Linked DNA regions of Homo sapiens: region 2 is linked to region 1. The links are contacts of gene promoters, found by promoter capture Hi-C in human tissues and cell types (Jung and others, 2019). All regions are on one chromosome and are shown on one strand. The core of a region is centred on a gene start or on the middle of the fragment in contact, and the rest is flanking DNA. Distances in the headings are between cores, read along the strand shown.

Region 1 (7,382 bases), core at 1,164-3,663:
ATCAAGTCCCCATCGCTACAGAGAAAAACATTTTTTTTTGAGACAGAGTCTTGCTGTGTCACCAGGCTGGAGTTCAGTGGTGCAACCTTGGCTCACGGCAACCTCCACCTCCCAGGCTCAAGCAATTCTCCTGCCTCGGCCTCCTGAGTAGCTGGGACTACAGGCACATGCCACCACGCCCGGCAAATTTTTTGTATTTTTAGTAAAGACAGGGTTTTACCGTGTTAGCCAGGATGGTCTTGATCTCCTTACCTTGTGATCTGCCTGCCTTGGCCTCCCAAAGTGTTGGTATTACAGGCGTGAGCCACCACACCCAGCCTACAGAAAAATTTAAAAAATTGGACAAGTGTGGTGGCACATGCTGTAGTCTCAGCTGCTTGGGAGGCCAAGGCAGGAGGATTACTTGAGCCCAGGAGCTAGGCTGCAATGAATTATGATTGTACCACTGCAGTCTAGTCTGGGGGAGTGAGAGCCCATCTCAAAAAAATAAAATGAAATAAAGAGAAGAATGAAATTACTCTTTGATCCATGGGCTGCAGAATAAATGTTGTGTTAGCAGGCATGAAAACATTAACTTCCTTGTATATCTCCATCAGAGCTCTTGGTTGTCCAGGTGCATTGTAATAAACTGTAATATTTGGAAAGGAATATTTTTTTTTCTGAGCAGTAGGTCTCAACAATGGGCTTAAAATATTCAGCAAACCATGCTGTAAACACATAGGTTGTCATCCAGTCTTTGTTGTTCAACTGATAGAGCACAGGCAGAATAAACATAATTCTTAAGGGCTTCAGGATTTTTCAGAATGGTAAATGAGAACTGGCTTCACCAACGGCATTCACCCCAACAAAAGAGTCAGCCTGCCCTTTAAGGCTTTGAAGCCAGGCATTGACTTCTCCTCTCTAGCTACAAAAGTCTTAGATGGCATCTTTCCCCAATAGCAGGCTGTTTTGTCTACATTGAAAATCTGTTCTTATTGTAGCCACTTTCATCAATGATCTTAGCTAGATCTTCTGGATAACATGCTGCAGTTTCTCCATCAGCACTTGAAGCTTCACCTTGCACTTTTATATTATGGAGATGGCTTTTCTCCTTAAACCTCATGAACCAACTTTTGTTACTTCCCAACATTTCTTCTGCACCTTCTTCACCTCTCTCAGCCTTCACAGAACTGAAGAGAGTTTGGGCCTTGCTCTGGATTAGGCTTTAGTTTAAGGGAATGTTGTGGCTGGTTTGATCTTCTATCCACACCACTCAAACTTGCCCCATATCAGCAAAAAGACTGTTTCACTTTTTTATCATTCATGTGTTCACTGGAGTAGCACTTTAAATTTCCTTCAAGAACTTTTCCTTTGAATTCACAATTTGGTTAAACATTTGGCACAAGAAACCTAGCTTTTGGCCTGTCTCAGGTTTTGACATGCCTTTCTCACTAAGCTTAATCATTTCTACCTTTTGATTTAAAGTGAGAGATGGGCCAAGGGGTGGTTCATGCCTGTAATCTCAGCACTTTGGGAGGCTGGGGTGGGTGGATCACAAGGTCAAGAGTTGGAGACCAACCTGGCCAACATGGTGAAACCCCATCTCTACTAATAATACAAAAATTAGCCAGGAGTGGTGGTGCACACCTGTAGTCCTAGCTACTCAGGAGGCTGAGGCAGGAGAATCGCTTGAACCTGGAAGGCAGAGGATGTAGTGAGCCAAGATCACGACACTGCACTCCAGCCTGGGCGACAGAGCGAGACTCCATCTCCAAAAATAAATAAATAAAGTGAGAGATGTGTGACTCTTCCTTTCACTTGAACACTTAGAGGTCATCGTAGAGTTATTAAGTGGTCTAATGTCAATATTTTTGTGTCTCAGGGAAAAGGGAGGTCCAAGGAGAGGAAGAGCGATGGGAGTATGGCTGGTCAGTGGAACAGTATTGAAAGTTCCATGCAGGCTGGGTGCGGTGGCTCATGCCTGTAATCCCAGCACTTTGGGAGGCCAAGGTGGGCAGATCATGAGGTCAGGAGTTCGAGACCAGCCTGGACAATATGACAAAACCCCGTCTCTACTAAAAATACAAAAATTAGCCGGGCATGCTGGCATGCACCTGTAGTCCCAGCTACTCGGGAGGCTGAGGCAGGAGAATCGCTTGAACCGGGGAGGCAGAGGTTGCAGTGAACTGAGGTCCTACCACTGCACTGCAGCAGGGGTTGACAGAGTGAGACTCCATCAAAAAAAAGAAAGAAAGAAACACAGAAAGAGAGAGAGACGAAAGAAAGAGAGAGAGAGAGAGAGAGAGAAAGAAAGAAAGAAAGAAAGAAAGAAAGAAAGAAAGAAAGAAAGAAAGAAAGAAAGAAAGAAAGTTCCGTGCAGTATTTTCTGTTCCTGCCAGTAGTTTCTGGCCTCCAACTCCATCGATATTCCTGCAAAAGACATGATCTCATTCTTTTTTATGGCTGCACGGTATTTCATGGTGTATATGTACGTTTTCTTTATCCAGTCGTCACTGATGGGCCTTTGATTCCACGTCTTTGTTATTGTGAATGGTGCTGCTGTGAACATTCATGTGCATGTGTCTTTACAAGAGAATGATTTATATTTCTCTGGGTACATACCCAGTAATGGGATTGTGGGGTCAAACTGTAGTTCTCTTTTTAGCACTTTGAGGAATCGCCATACTGCTCTCCACAATGGTTGGGCGAAATTTATACTCCCACTAACAGTGTATAAGTGTTCCCTTTTCTCTGCAATCTTGCCAGCATATTTTTTGACTTTTTAATAACAGCCATTATCACTGGTGTGAGATGGTATCTCATTATGGTTTTGATTTGCATTTCTTTAATGATTAGTGATATTGAGCTTTTTTTCTTATGATTGTTGGTTGCATGTATGTCTTCTTTTGAAAATTGTCTGTTCATGTCCTTTGCCTACTTTTTAATGGGGTTGTTTTTCTCTTGCAAATTTGTTTACATTCCTTATAGATGCTGGATATTAGACCTTTGTCAGACGCATATTTGCAAATATTTTCTTCCATTCTGGAGGTTGTCTGTTTACTCTGTTGATAGTTTCTTTTGCTGTGCAGAGGAAGCTCTTTAGTTCAATTAGGTCCCATGTCTCAATTTTTGCTTTTGTTGCAATTGCTTTTGGAGTCTTTGTCATGAAATATTTTCGATCCTATGTCCAAGACGGTATTGCCTCGGTTGTCTTCTAGGGTTTTTATAGCTTTGGATTTTACATTTAAGTCTTTAATCCATCTTGAGTTGATTTTTGTATATGGTGTAAAGAAGGGGTCCAGTTTCAATCTTCTGCATATGGCTAGCCAATTATCCCAGCACCATTTATTGAACAGGGATTCCCTCCACCCACACACCATTGCTTGTTTTTGTCAGCTTTATTGAAGATCAGATGATCTTAGGAGTGTGGCCTTATTTCTGGTCTCTCTATTCTGTTCCATTGGCCTATGTGCCTGTTTTTGTACCAGTACCATGCTGTTTTGGTTACTGTAGCCCTGTAGGACAGTTTGAAGTCAGGTAATGTGATGCCTCCAACTTTGTTCTTTTTGCTTAGGATTGCCTTGGCTATTCAGGCTCTTTTTGGTTCCATGTGAATTTTTTTTTTTTTTTTTTGAGACAGAGTCTTGCTCTGTTGCCCAGGCTGGAGTGCAGTGGCGCAATCTTGGCTCACTGCAAGCTCCGCCTCTCGGGTTCATGCCATTCTTCTGCCTCAGCCTCATGTGTAGCTGGGACTACAGGCACCTGCCACCATGCCCAGCTAATTTTTTTTTTTTTGGTATTTTTAGTAAAGATGGGGTTTCGCCGTGTTAGCCAGGATGGTCTCAATCTCCTGATCTCGTAATCTGCCCATCTCGGCCTCCCAAAGTGCTGGGATTACAGGTGTGAGTCACCGCAGCCAGCTGGTTCCATGTGAATTTTAAAATAGTTTTTTATAATTCTATGAAGAATGTCATTGGTAGTTTGATAGGAATAGCATTGAATCTACAAATTGCTTTGGGCAATATGTCCATTTTAATGATATTTATTCTTCCAATCCATGAGCATGGGATGTTTTTCCATTTGTGTCATCTCTGATTTATTTCAGCTGTGTGCTGTAATTCTCATTGTAGGGATCTTTCACCTCCCTAGTTAGCTGTATTCCTAGGTATTTTATATACTTATTTATTTTTTTGAGATGGAATCTTGCTGGGATTACAGGTGTGAGCCTCCATGCACGGCTTGGTATTTTATTCTTTTTGTGGCAATTGTGAATGGGATTGCCTTCCTGATTTGACTCTCGGCTTGGCTGTTGTATGTGCATAGGAATGCCGGTAATTTTTGTACATTGACTTTGTATCCTGAAACTTTGCTGAAGTTGTTTATCAGCTGAAGGAACTTTTGGGCTGAGACAATGGGGTTTCCTAGATAGAAACATGTCATCTGCAAACAGGGAGAGTCTGACTTCTTTTCTTCCTATTTGGATGCCTTTTCTTTCTTTCTCTTGCCTCATTATTCTGGCCAGGACTTCCAATACTACGTTGAATAAAAGTGGTGAGAGAGGGCATTATTGACTTGTGCCAGTTTTCAAAGGGAATCCATCCTGCTTTTCCTCATTCAATGTGTTGGTTATTTTATGTTTTCTTTAGAAAAATGTCCATTCAAATTCATTGCCCATTTTTTAATTGGGCTATTTGGTTAATTTGTTTTTGAGTTGTGTGAGTTCCTCATATATTTGATGACTTTATCAGATATATTATTTGCAGGTATTTTCTTTTAATCCATAGTCTACCTTTTCATTTTGTTGACTGCCTCCTTTGCTTTGCAGCAGTTTTATAGCTTGATGTAATCCTACTTGTTTCTTGTGTCTTGCTTTGTTTTTTTTTTTGCCTCAGCTTTTGGTGTGATATTCAAAAAATCATTGCTGGCTGAGTGCAGTGGGTTACATTTGCAATCCCAGCACTTTGGGAGGCTGAGGCAGGCGGATCACCTGAGGTCAGGAGTTCGAGACCAGCCTGGCCAACATGGCAAAACCCCGTCTCTACTAAAAGTACAAAAATTAGCTGGGTATGGTGGTACACACTGTAATCCCAGCTACTTGGGAGGCTGAGGCAGGAGAATTGCTTGAGCCCGAGAGGTGGAGGTTGCAGTGAGTCAAGATAGCACCACTGCACTCCAGCTGGGTGAGACAGAGCAAGACTCTGTCTCAAAAACAAAAAACAAAAACAACAACAAACAAAACATAAAATAAAAAATAAGGAAAGATTTACTATTGATATTTTGTTACTTATTTCTGTTAGTCTTATAGTCCTTCTGTCCCTTTCTCTTGCTGTTTTCTTTTGTATTTCACTGTTTTTTTTTTTTTTTTTTTTTTGAGATGGAGTCTTGCTCTGTCACCCAGGCTGGAGGGCAATGGCACAATCTCGGCTCACTGCAACCTTCGCCTTCTGGTTCAAGCAATTCTCCTGCCTCAGCCTTCCAAGTAGCTGGGATTACAAGTGTGCAGCACCACACCTGGCTAATTTTTCTATTTTTAGTAGAGATGGGGTTTTGCCATGTTGGACAGGCTAGTCTCGAACTCCTGGCCTATGTTTTCATTATTTTCTCCTTTTCTTTAATTCTATAGGCATTTTCTTTGTAGTTACCAAGTGTTTACATAAAATCTCTTATAATAGTCTACTTTAAGCTGATAACAACTTAACTTCCCTTGCATGTCAGAACTTTGCTTTTATCTCTCTTCCCCTGGCTTATATGCTATTGATATCACCACTAACACCTATTTATATTGTACCAATTAACATAATATAGTTGTTTTACTACTTTTGTCTTTTAACTTTTATAAGAGAACTAAAATTGATTTACCCACTACTGTTATAGTAATACACTATTGGTTTTGACTATATATTTACCTTTGCCAATGAGTTTCATACTTCGTGTGCTCCTGTTACTGTTTTCCATACTTTTGTTTTAACCTTAAGAACTCTCTTTAGCATTTCTTATAAGGCAGGTCTAGTGGTGATAATCTCCCTCAGCTTTTGTTTGAGAAAGTCTTTATTTCCCTCTCATTTTTGAAGTATGGGTTTGTTGGATATAGCATTCTTGACTGGAAGTTTTTTTCTTTCAGCACTTTGTATCTATTGTCCCACTCCTTTCTGGCCCACAAGGTTTATGCTGGAAACTCTGTTAATAGTTTTATTAGGGGACCCTTGTACACAGAAGTTGCTTTTCCCTTGGCTGCTTTCAAAATTCTGTCTCTAACTTTTGACAATTTGATTGTAATGTATGTCAGTGTGGATCTCTTTGGATTCATCTTATTTTTTTTTTTTTTGAGACAGTCTCGCTCTGTCGCTCAGGCTGGAGTGCTATGGCATGATCTAGGCTCACTGCAACCTCCACCTCCCAGGTTCAAGCCATTCTCCTGCCTCAGCCTCCTGAGTAGCTGGCATTACAGGCACATGCCACCGCGCGCGGCTAATTTTTATATTTTTAGCAGAGACGGGGTTTCACCATGTTGGCCAGGCTGGTCTCGAACTCCTGACCTCAAGTGATCCACCTGCCTCGGCCTCCCAAAGGGCTGGGATTACAGGCATGAGCCACCGCACCTGGCAGGATTCATCTTATTTCATGTCCCTTGGACTTCTTGGGTCTTGATTTCTATTTCATTCCCCAGTTTTGGAAGGGTTTCAGCCACTGTTTGTTTGAATATGCTTTCTGTCCGTTTTGCTCTCTCTGCCTTCTGAAAATCCACTAATGCATACATTAGTCTACTCGATGGTGTCCCTTAAGTACCTTAATCTATCCTCACTCTTTCTTTTTTTCTCATTTTTGCCCCTCTGGTTGGATAATTTCCAATGGCTGGTCTTCAAATTCACTGACTCTTTTTTCTGCTTGACCTAGTCTGTGAGTGAAACCCTCTAGAGAATTTTTCAGATGAGTTATTATGTACTTCAGATCTATAACTTCTGTTTGGTATGTTTTTAAATTTTCTCCTTTTTCTGAGACAGGGTCTCACTCAGTCACCCAGGCTGGAGTGCAGTGGTGTGATAACAGCTCACTGCAGCCTTGGCATCCCAGGCTGAAGTGATCCTCCCACCTCAGCCCCCAGAGGAGCTGGGACCACAGGCGTATGCCACCATGCCAGGCTAATTTTTAATTTTTTGTAGACATGGGGTCTTACTATGTAAACCAGGCTGGTCTTGAACTCCTAACCTCAAGCAATCCTCCCACCTTGGCCTCCCAAAGTGCTGGGATGACAGTGTGAGCCACCATGCCAACCCTTGTTTTTGTATTTTCTCTTTGTTGAAAGTCTCGGTTTGTTCATACATTATACTCCTGACATCAGTGAGCATATTTATGATTATTTTTAATTCTCTTTTTTTTTTTTTGAGAGGACGTTTTGCTCTGTT
Region 2 (7,707 bases), core at 321-2,820, 160 kb before region 1:
TCCCAGCTTCTCCAGAGGCCAAGGTGGGAGGATCATTTGAGGTCAGGAGTTCGAGACCAGCCTGGCCAACATGGCAAAACCCCGTTCCTACTAAAAATAAGAAACTCAGCCAGACGCGGTGGTGCGCACCTGTAGTCCCAGCTACTCGGGAGGCTGAGGCATGAGAATCGCTTGAGCCCGGGATGTGGAGGTTGCAGTGAGCTGAGATCGGGCCACTGCACTCCAGCCTGAGTGACAGAGCAAGACTCCATCTCAAAAACAAAAGTTCAGGACTTCCTAGACTAGACAATGGCAGTCAATTACCATTCAGTAAGAACATGCTTGATGTTGCTATGTATTTCTCTCTCTCTTATTTTATTTTTTGAGACAGGATCTTGCTCTGTTGCCCTGATGTGATCTCAGCTCACTGCAACCTCTGCCTCCCAGGCTCAAGCAATCCTCTCACCTCAGCCTGTTTTCTGTTTTTTCAATAGCTGAAAATACAGGTGTGTGCTACCACGCCTGGCTCATTTTTTTGTATTTTTGGTAGAGACAGGGTTTCACCATGTTGCCCAAGCTGGTCTCAAACTCCTGAGCTCTAGCAATCCACCCACCTTAGCCTCCCAAAGTGCTGAGATTATTTATAAGTGTGAGCCACCATGCCTAGCCTATATTTCTCAAATAGTACTTTTCAAACGTTTTAAGCAGGACAACTGTTTCAAATAAGATCTTACACAGGTCAGCAAAACCCAGATTATACGCTTTAAAAATAAAAATAAGCCGGGCACGGTGGCCTATGTCTGAAATCCCAGCACTTTGGGAGGCTGAGGCGGGAGGATCACTTGAGGTCAGGAGTTCGAGACCAGCCTGGCCAACATGGTGAACAGCACTGAGAAGATTCTATACCAACCCCGTTCATATGATTGCATAGCAATCCCTTTTTGCTAACCTAGAGATGTTTGTCTGACATGAGTATTAATCATAAATGTAGTGAAGAAGTCTCAAAGAACAGGTGTTCCAGCTCCTGCCTTTCGTGACCCTGACCTGCTTCTTAAAAAACCCATTAGGAGCCTGAAGGAAGTTTACTAACCCAGTTCCAAAGGCCAGAGTGAAGAAAGGGACGTTCCTGAACTAAAGTCATCTGGATTTTGGTAGACCTGAGACTCCCAATCCCCAGGTCAGAGTGAGCTGCTCTGAGCTCCTGGTCCCCTTTCCCACAAAGCAGCCAGCACTCAGCACTGGATGAGGAGGAGGCCTGGGCCCGCTTACCCTGAATGGCTGCCCTGTGGAGCTCCTCGGCCAGCAGGCGCTGGTTGATGGCCCGCAGGACCTGCAGGGTGAGCTGCACGGCGTACTCTTCCCCATAGTAGGTGACCAGCAGAGTGGCCATCTTCACCGGCCTGGCTCTCTGGATCTGGCTCCGGGGGATCCTGGAGTGCTCCTTCTGCACACTGGTGTTCTGCAGCTTGAACTTGAACTTCTCGAAGTCATAGGGCACCAGCTCCTCCAGGGTGGACAGCAGATGGTCACTAGGGGTCTTAGCCATGGTGCTGAGCAGGAGAGGCTCGAGCCAGCTGTCTGGCTTCTGGTAGGAAAAGAAGCCTCTGTCCTTGGTGAGCAAGAAAAGGCAGGTTGTGAAATAGCGGAAAAGGCACAGGAAATGCTCTGTGTCTTGGTGGGAACTGAGACTAAGGGTAAGGGTGTGTCCATGCCGGCTGTGTTCTCTTCTTACAGGTTCAGAGGATTTTCCAGCTGGGAGGGCTCCATGCCTTGGCAGACATGTGCCCCCACACCCCTCCCAAACCCTGGACCTCGCCTCCACACTAGACCACAGACAGATGGGCAAGTCTGCAAGGGAAGGTCTGGGATTGGATTCCAGACACCCCCTCCAATCTTCCTTCCTGCCAGGATCTGGGGCTGGCAGAGCGGGTGAGTGGGAACAGAGAGGACTATGCTGAGGGCCCGCCCTGCTGGTCAACTGTTCTCCTCCAGACTCGGGGTTTCAGGGACCTTCCAGAGCCAATGGCACAGGACGGGGGAAGGGGTGGGCACTGAATACAGTCCTGTGAGCTTTGCCTTTCCTGGCCCAAGAAGGCAAGTGAGGCCAGAAGGGCACTGCCAGGAGATAACTCTTGCCATGCCATCACCCCTGTTGATCCGGTTCCAGTTGACTGGTTCTTCCAGCCACATGAAGGACTTGAAAAGCAATGCCTGGACCACCAGCCTGACTCATCTGTTCCCAGAGCTGACTCAGTCCTCGCTCCCTGGAGCCAGAATGCTCTTCCGTGCACATTCATTGAACATTCTAGACAGTGTGCCAAGATGCTGGAGCTACACGGGTGAAAAGGCACGGGTGTCCTTCAGCTCATATGTGGTGCAGGGCCCCAGAGGTGGCTTTGAAGCTAACAGAAGTTACATGTTGGGGGCAGGGCACAGTGGCTAACGCCTGTAATCCCAGCACTTTGGGAGGCCGAGGTGGGTGGATCACCTCAGGTTGGGAGTACAAGACCAGCCTGGCCAACACAGTAAAACCCCATCTCTACTAAAAATACAAAAATTAGCCAGGCATGGTGGCACGCACCTGTACTCCCAGCTACTCAGGAGGCTGAGGCAGGAGAATCACTTGAACATGGGAGGCAGATGTTGCAGTGAGCCGAGGTTGCGCCATTGTACTCCAGCTTGGGCGACAGAGCGGGACTTTGTCTCAAAAAAAATAAATAAATGAAAAATTACATGTAGGGTGAACTGACTCCTCACTTACCTACTTCTGACCGTTGCATACCCTAATTTTTTTATTTTTAGATAGGGTCTTGCTCAGTCACTCAGGCTGGAGTGCAGTAGTGGGATCTTGGCTCACTGCAACTTCTGCCTCCTGGGCTTGAGCAACCCTCCAACCTCAGCCTCCCAAGTAGCTGAGACTACAGGTGCATTCCACCACATCTGGCCAATTTTTGTATTTTTTATAGAGACAGGGTCTCACTATGTTGCGCAGGCTGGTCTTGAACTCCTGATCTCAAGCGATCCACTCGCTTTGGCCTCCCAAAGTGCTGGGATTACAGGTGTGAGCCACTGCGCCCGGCCAGAAGTTTTGTTAATAATGCAATTTACCCTTCACCAGCACTTCCTCGGCACCAGCCACCACTAGCTTTATAAACACTTCCTCCTAGAATCTCTGCAGCACCCTGCAGGGCTGCGTTTATCATCCCCCTGTGCAGCCAAGAATCTGTAGCTTAGTGACTTGCCTAGAGCCAAGATCCAAACGTCAAACCACTTCACAACATCGTCTCCTGCATGACAATAATTTGTGATTTTACTGTTAATGACTACCCATGGATGTCACATTTCCAGCTGACCACTGAGGTCCAGGATGGGTCACTTCCACAGGTCAGTCACAACATTGCGACGCCTAGCTGAACACCCAGCTCTGGGTGTGAGCTCCTCTGTGTGTGCCCAGCCTGGGATTCAAGGCTTTGATGAGTTCTGGTTGGTTGAATTTAACTTACTGTCCAGCTGGTCCACCTGTTTCCTATTTCACAGAGTATTTGGTGTTTTTGCATTGTTTTCATAGCTGACAACAAACATGCAGTTTGCTAGATCTTTCTGAGCCCAAACCCAACATCTTCCCTAAAAAAAGGGTGAATTGGGCTGGGTGTAGTGGCTCACACCTGCAATCCCAGCCCTTGGGAGGCTGAGACAGGAGGATTACTTAAGCCCAAGAGTTTGAGATTAGCCTGGGCAACATAAGGAGACCCTGCCTCTACAAAAAATAGAAAAAATATTAGCTGGGTGTGGTGGCACACACTGGTGGTCCCTGCTGCTACTCAGGAGGCTGAGGTGGGAAGATTGCTTGAGCCTAGGTTCAGGCTGCAATGAGCTGTGATTGCACCACTGCTCTCCAGCCTGGGTGACACAGCAAGACACCCTGTCTCAAAAAAAAAAAAAAAAAAAAAAAAAAAAAGTGGATGAAATGCACATTGATGGTGCAGACAGCAGATTTTTGGAATTTTTAGGCTGGGCCAGAAGAAGGGTGTTGAATGGGGTATCACTGGGGCCAGCACCCGTCCCTGACTCTGGACGGTGGCAACCCAGCACCTCCCAGGCAGTCTCCCACTACCAGATGGAGAAAGGATGAGACTGTGCAGTGACGCTGTGGGTGCTGTGTGATCCCATCTCGTCTGGTCAGAAAACTCCTCGGAGCTGATACCAAAACCCCATGACAGAATTGGGCAGGGAATGATACTTTCTGGTCTAAAGCAGGATATTTTGCAATTGCGGTGACACGTTTTGCAACAGAGGCTGCTCTGAGGCAGGACTTCTGGAAGGCAGTGTTTTGATGCCACTTTGGACTTTCTAGGGCAAGGCAGGCTCACAAAGCTTTTGTTTGGAGGGGTTCCAGTAATTTCTCACAGTGAAAATAGAATTATTGCCCTTCTAACGTCATTTAAGTGTTTAATAATCAAAGTGGAATGGTCATGGGCTGTCTTGTGTGCCCCTGCCATTGGATGTGTGACCTTATTTGGGGTGACATGGCAAATCTAAACCCAACAAAGCTGCTGCAAAGGGTCTACTCTCGGCTATTACTCCTGGGAAATGTGCGGCTCAGACACCACGACCTTCACTCCACTCCTGGTCACCAGGGGTTTCACTTTCTATGGCATTTACTTCTGCACATTTTGGGATTTAAAAAAATGAAGATTGTATTACTTTCGTAATAAGCAAAAAAGATAGTTTTAAAAAGTCTTTCAGACCAGGTGTGGTGGCGCACGCCTGTAATTTCAACACTTTGGAAGGCCGAGACAGGTGGATCACTTGAGGTCAGGAGTTCCAGACCAGCCTGGCCAACACGGCAAAACCTCGTCTCTAATGAAAATACAAAAATTAGCCAGGTGAGGTGGCCCGCGCCTGTAATCCCAGGTACTCCGGAGGCTGAGGTAGAACTGCTTGAACCTGGGAGGTGGAGGTTTCAGTGAGTCGAGATTGCATCACTGCACTCCAGGTTGGGCAACAGAGCAAGATTCCGTATTTAAAAAAAAAAAAAGTCTTTCACAATTAGCTTAACTTCTAAGGGAGTATCAGTCCCGTGCCCCTAAACCATCATGATAAAGGAGGTATATAGTATTTACTTATTTATTTACTTGATTTATTTTGAGACAGAGTCTCACTCTTATCACCTGGGCTGGAGTGCAGTGGCAAGATCATGGCCCACTGCAACCTCCGCCTCCCGGGTTCAAGCGATTCTCCTGCCTCTGCCTCCCGAGTAGCTGGCATTACAGGTGCCCGCCATTACACCCAGCTAATTTTTTGTATTTTTAGTAGAGACGGGGTTTCACCATGTTGGCCAGGCTGGTCTTGAACTCCTGACCTTGTGATTCGCCCGCCTCAGCCTCCCAAAGTTCTGGGATTACAGGCGTGCGCCACCGTGACCAGCCAACTATTTTTTCATAGATGATGAAATGTAGGCTTACAGGTAGGGTGACCAACACATTTTGTCTAGGAGCAAAACCCAATTTGCCCAGTCTTAGCACTGAAAGCCTAGTTCTGGGAACGACCACAGTCCGGGGAAATTGGGACAATTGCCCACCCTGTTTAGATGGGTTAATTGACATACTGAACACATGTCTAGCTAGGAAGAGGCACCACAGGGCCATTCATTTACTCTTGGAGCACCTGCTGTATGCCAGATGCTATTCTAGGTACTACTGATACAGAACTGAACAGAAAAAAACTTCTTGCAGTGCTCACATTCTTTTTTTTCTGATATAAATGCCCTTCAGAAGAGGCCACATTCTTTTTTTTTTTTCGAGATGGAATTTCACTCAGTCGCCCAGGCTGGAGGGCAGTAGCGCAATCTCGCCACTGCAACCTCTGCCTCCAGTGTTTGAGCGATCCTCCTGCCTCAGCGTCCCAAGTAGTTGGGATTATAGGTACCGACAACCACGCCTGGCTAATTTTTGTATTTTTAGTAGAGACGGGGTTTCACCATGTTGGCCAGGCTGGTCTTAAACTCCCGGCCTCAAGTGATTTACCCACCTCGGCCTCCCAAAGTGCTGGGATTACAGGCGTGAGCTGCTGCGCCTGGCTCAGAAGATCCCGCATTTTTTTTTTTTTGACGGAGTCTAGCTATATTGCCCAGGCTGGAGTGCAGTGGTGCTATCTCAGCTCACTGCAAGCTCCACCTCCCGGGTTCACGCCATCCTCCTGCCTCAGCCTCCCGAGTAGCTGGAACTACAGGCGCCTGCCACCACGCCCGGCTAATTTTTGTATTTTTAGTAGAGACGGGGTTTCACCGTGTTAGCCAGGATGGTCTCGATCTCCTGACCTTGTGATCTGCCCACCTCGGCCTCCCAAAGTGCTGGGATTACAGGCATGAGCCACTGCGCCCAGCCAAGAGCCCACATTCTTATAGGAAAGTGTGAATTGATATAAACAAACAAATACACAATGTATCAGGGAGTGATAAGTTGGGGGAAAAAACAGCAGAATAATAGGGTTAGTGAGTGCAGGGGATTGGTTTCATATTTTTTTATTTTTATTTATTTATTTAGAGACAGAGTCTCACTCTGTCACCCAGGCTGGAGTGCAGTGGTGCTATCTTGGCTCACTGCAACTTCTGCCTCCCGGGTTCAAGCAATTCTCCTGCCTCAGCCTCCCAAGTAGTTGGGATTACAGGCTCACACCACCATGCCAGGCTAATTTTTGTATTTTTAGTAAAGACGGGGTTTCACCATGTTGGCCAGGCCAGTCTCAAACAACTGACCTCAAGTGATCCAACCGCCTTGGCCTCCCAAAGTGCTGTGATTACAGGCATGAGCCACCGTGCCCCCTGGTTTCATATTTTAATAGGGCACTTGAAGAAGGCTTTTGTGCTTGAACAGAGACCCAAAGGAAGAGGAGTAAGCCAGGTATTCATTTTGAGGATGAGCAGTCTTTGCCTATTTACAGAGTGCAAAAGGGGTAACTTTGTGCTTAGTGTTTGAGGAAGAGTGGTGGCTGGAGCAGAGGCACGGAGGAGGAGTGGATGGAGGGGTTAGAGAGGGAGCTGGAGTCCCCTATCAAGTAGCAGGGCTCCCAGGACACAGCAAGGACTTGGCTCTTACTCTGAGATGAGGGGACACTGGAAAGTTTGAGCAGAGCAGTGACATAATTGGAGTTACGCTTTAAAAGAAACATTCTGGGCCGGGCGCGGTGGCTCACACATATAATCCAGCACTTTGGGAAGCCAAGGAAGGTGGATCACCTGAGGTCAGAAGTTCGAGATAAGCCTGGCCAACATGGTGAAAGCCCGTCTCTACTGAAAATACAAAAATTTGCTGAGTGTGGTGGTGATGTGCGCGTAGTCCCAGCTACTCTGGAGGCTGAGGTGAATCACCTGAACCTGGGAGGCGGAGGTTGCAGTGACCTGTGATCGCACCACTGTACTCTGGCCTGGGTGAAAGAGTGAGACTGTTTCAAAAAAAGAAAGAAAAGAAAAGAGAACACTCTGGCTTCCATAAGAGACAAGAGATGAGAAAGGTGGAAACAGAGAGGAGAAAGCAATCTATTGTCACAATGCAGGAAAGCGACTGCAGGGCCCTGAACCACTGTGGAGGCAGAAGGGTCAGATTCTGGGTGATTCTGAAAGCAGGGCTGACATGATAAGGGTAGACTGGATACTGGCGGGTGTGAAGATGCATCTAAGATACCTGTTTCTGGCCAGATTTTACAAAGGGCCCTTGTTGCTACCTTAAG

The links. The method cuts DNA at HindIII sites, captures the fragments that hold promoters and counts their contacts. A contact is called where the count stands out against the background at its distance.
Region 2: a contact is called between the fragment with the promoter of MEFV here and a fragment that was not itself captured in region 1, in 1 of the 25 tissues and cell types used here (mesenchymal stem cells).

Annotation. Positions count from the first base shown.
Region 1 is chr16:3,418,315-3,425,696 of GRCh38, forward strand. No RefSeq gene overlaps it. Among named protein-coding and RNA genes, the nearest start is that of ZNF174, 21 kb to the left of the region's middle. RefSeq lists a silencer at 1,989-2,271. The HindIII fragment of the contact is 7,760 bases long and covers 1-6,293 here.
Region 2 is chr16:3,255,063-3,262,769 of GRCh38, forward strand. MEFV (MEFV innate immunity regulator, pyrin) reads right to left here and starts at 1,571. Exons shown (of 10, transcript NM_000243.3): 1 at 1,249-1,571. The coding sequence starts at 1,525. The HindIII fragment of the contact is 7,133 bases long and covers 357-7,489 here.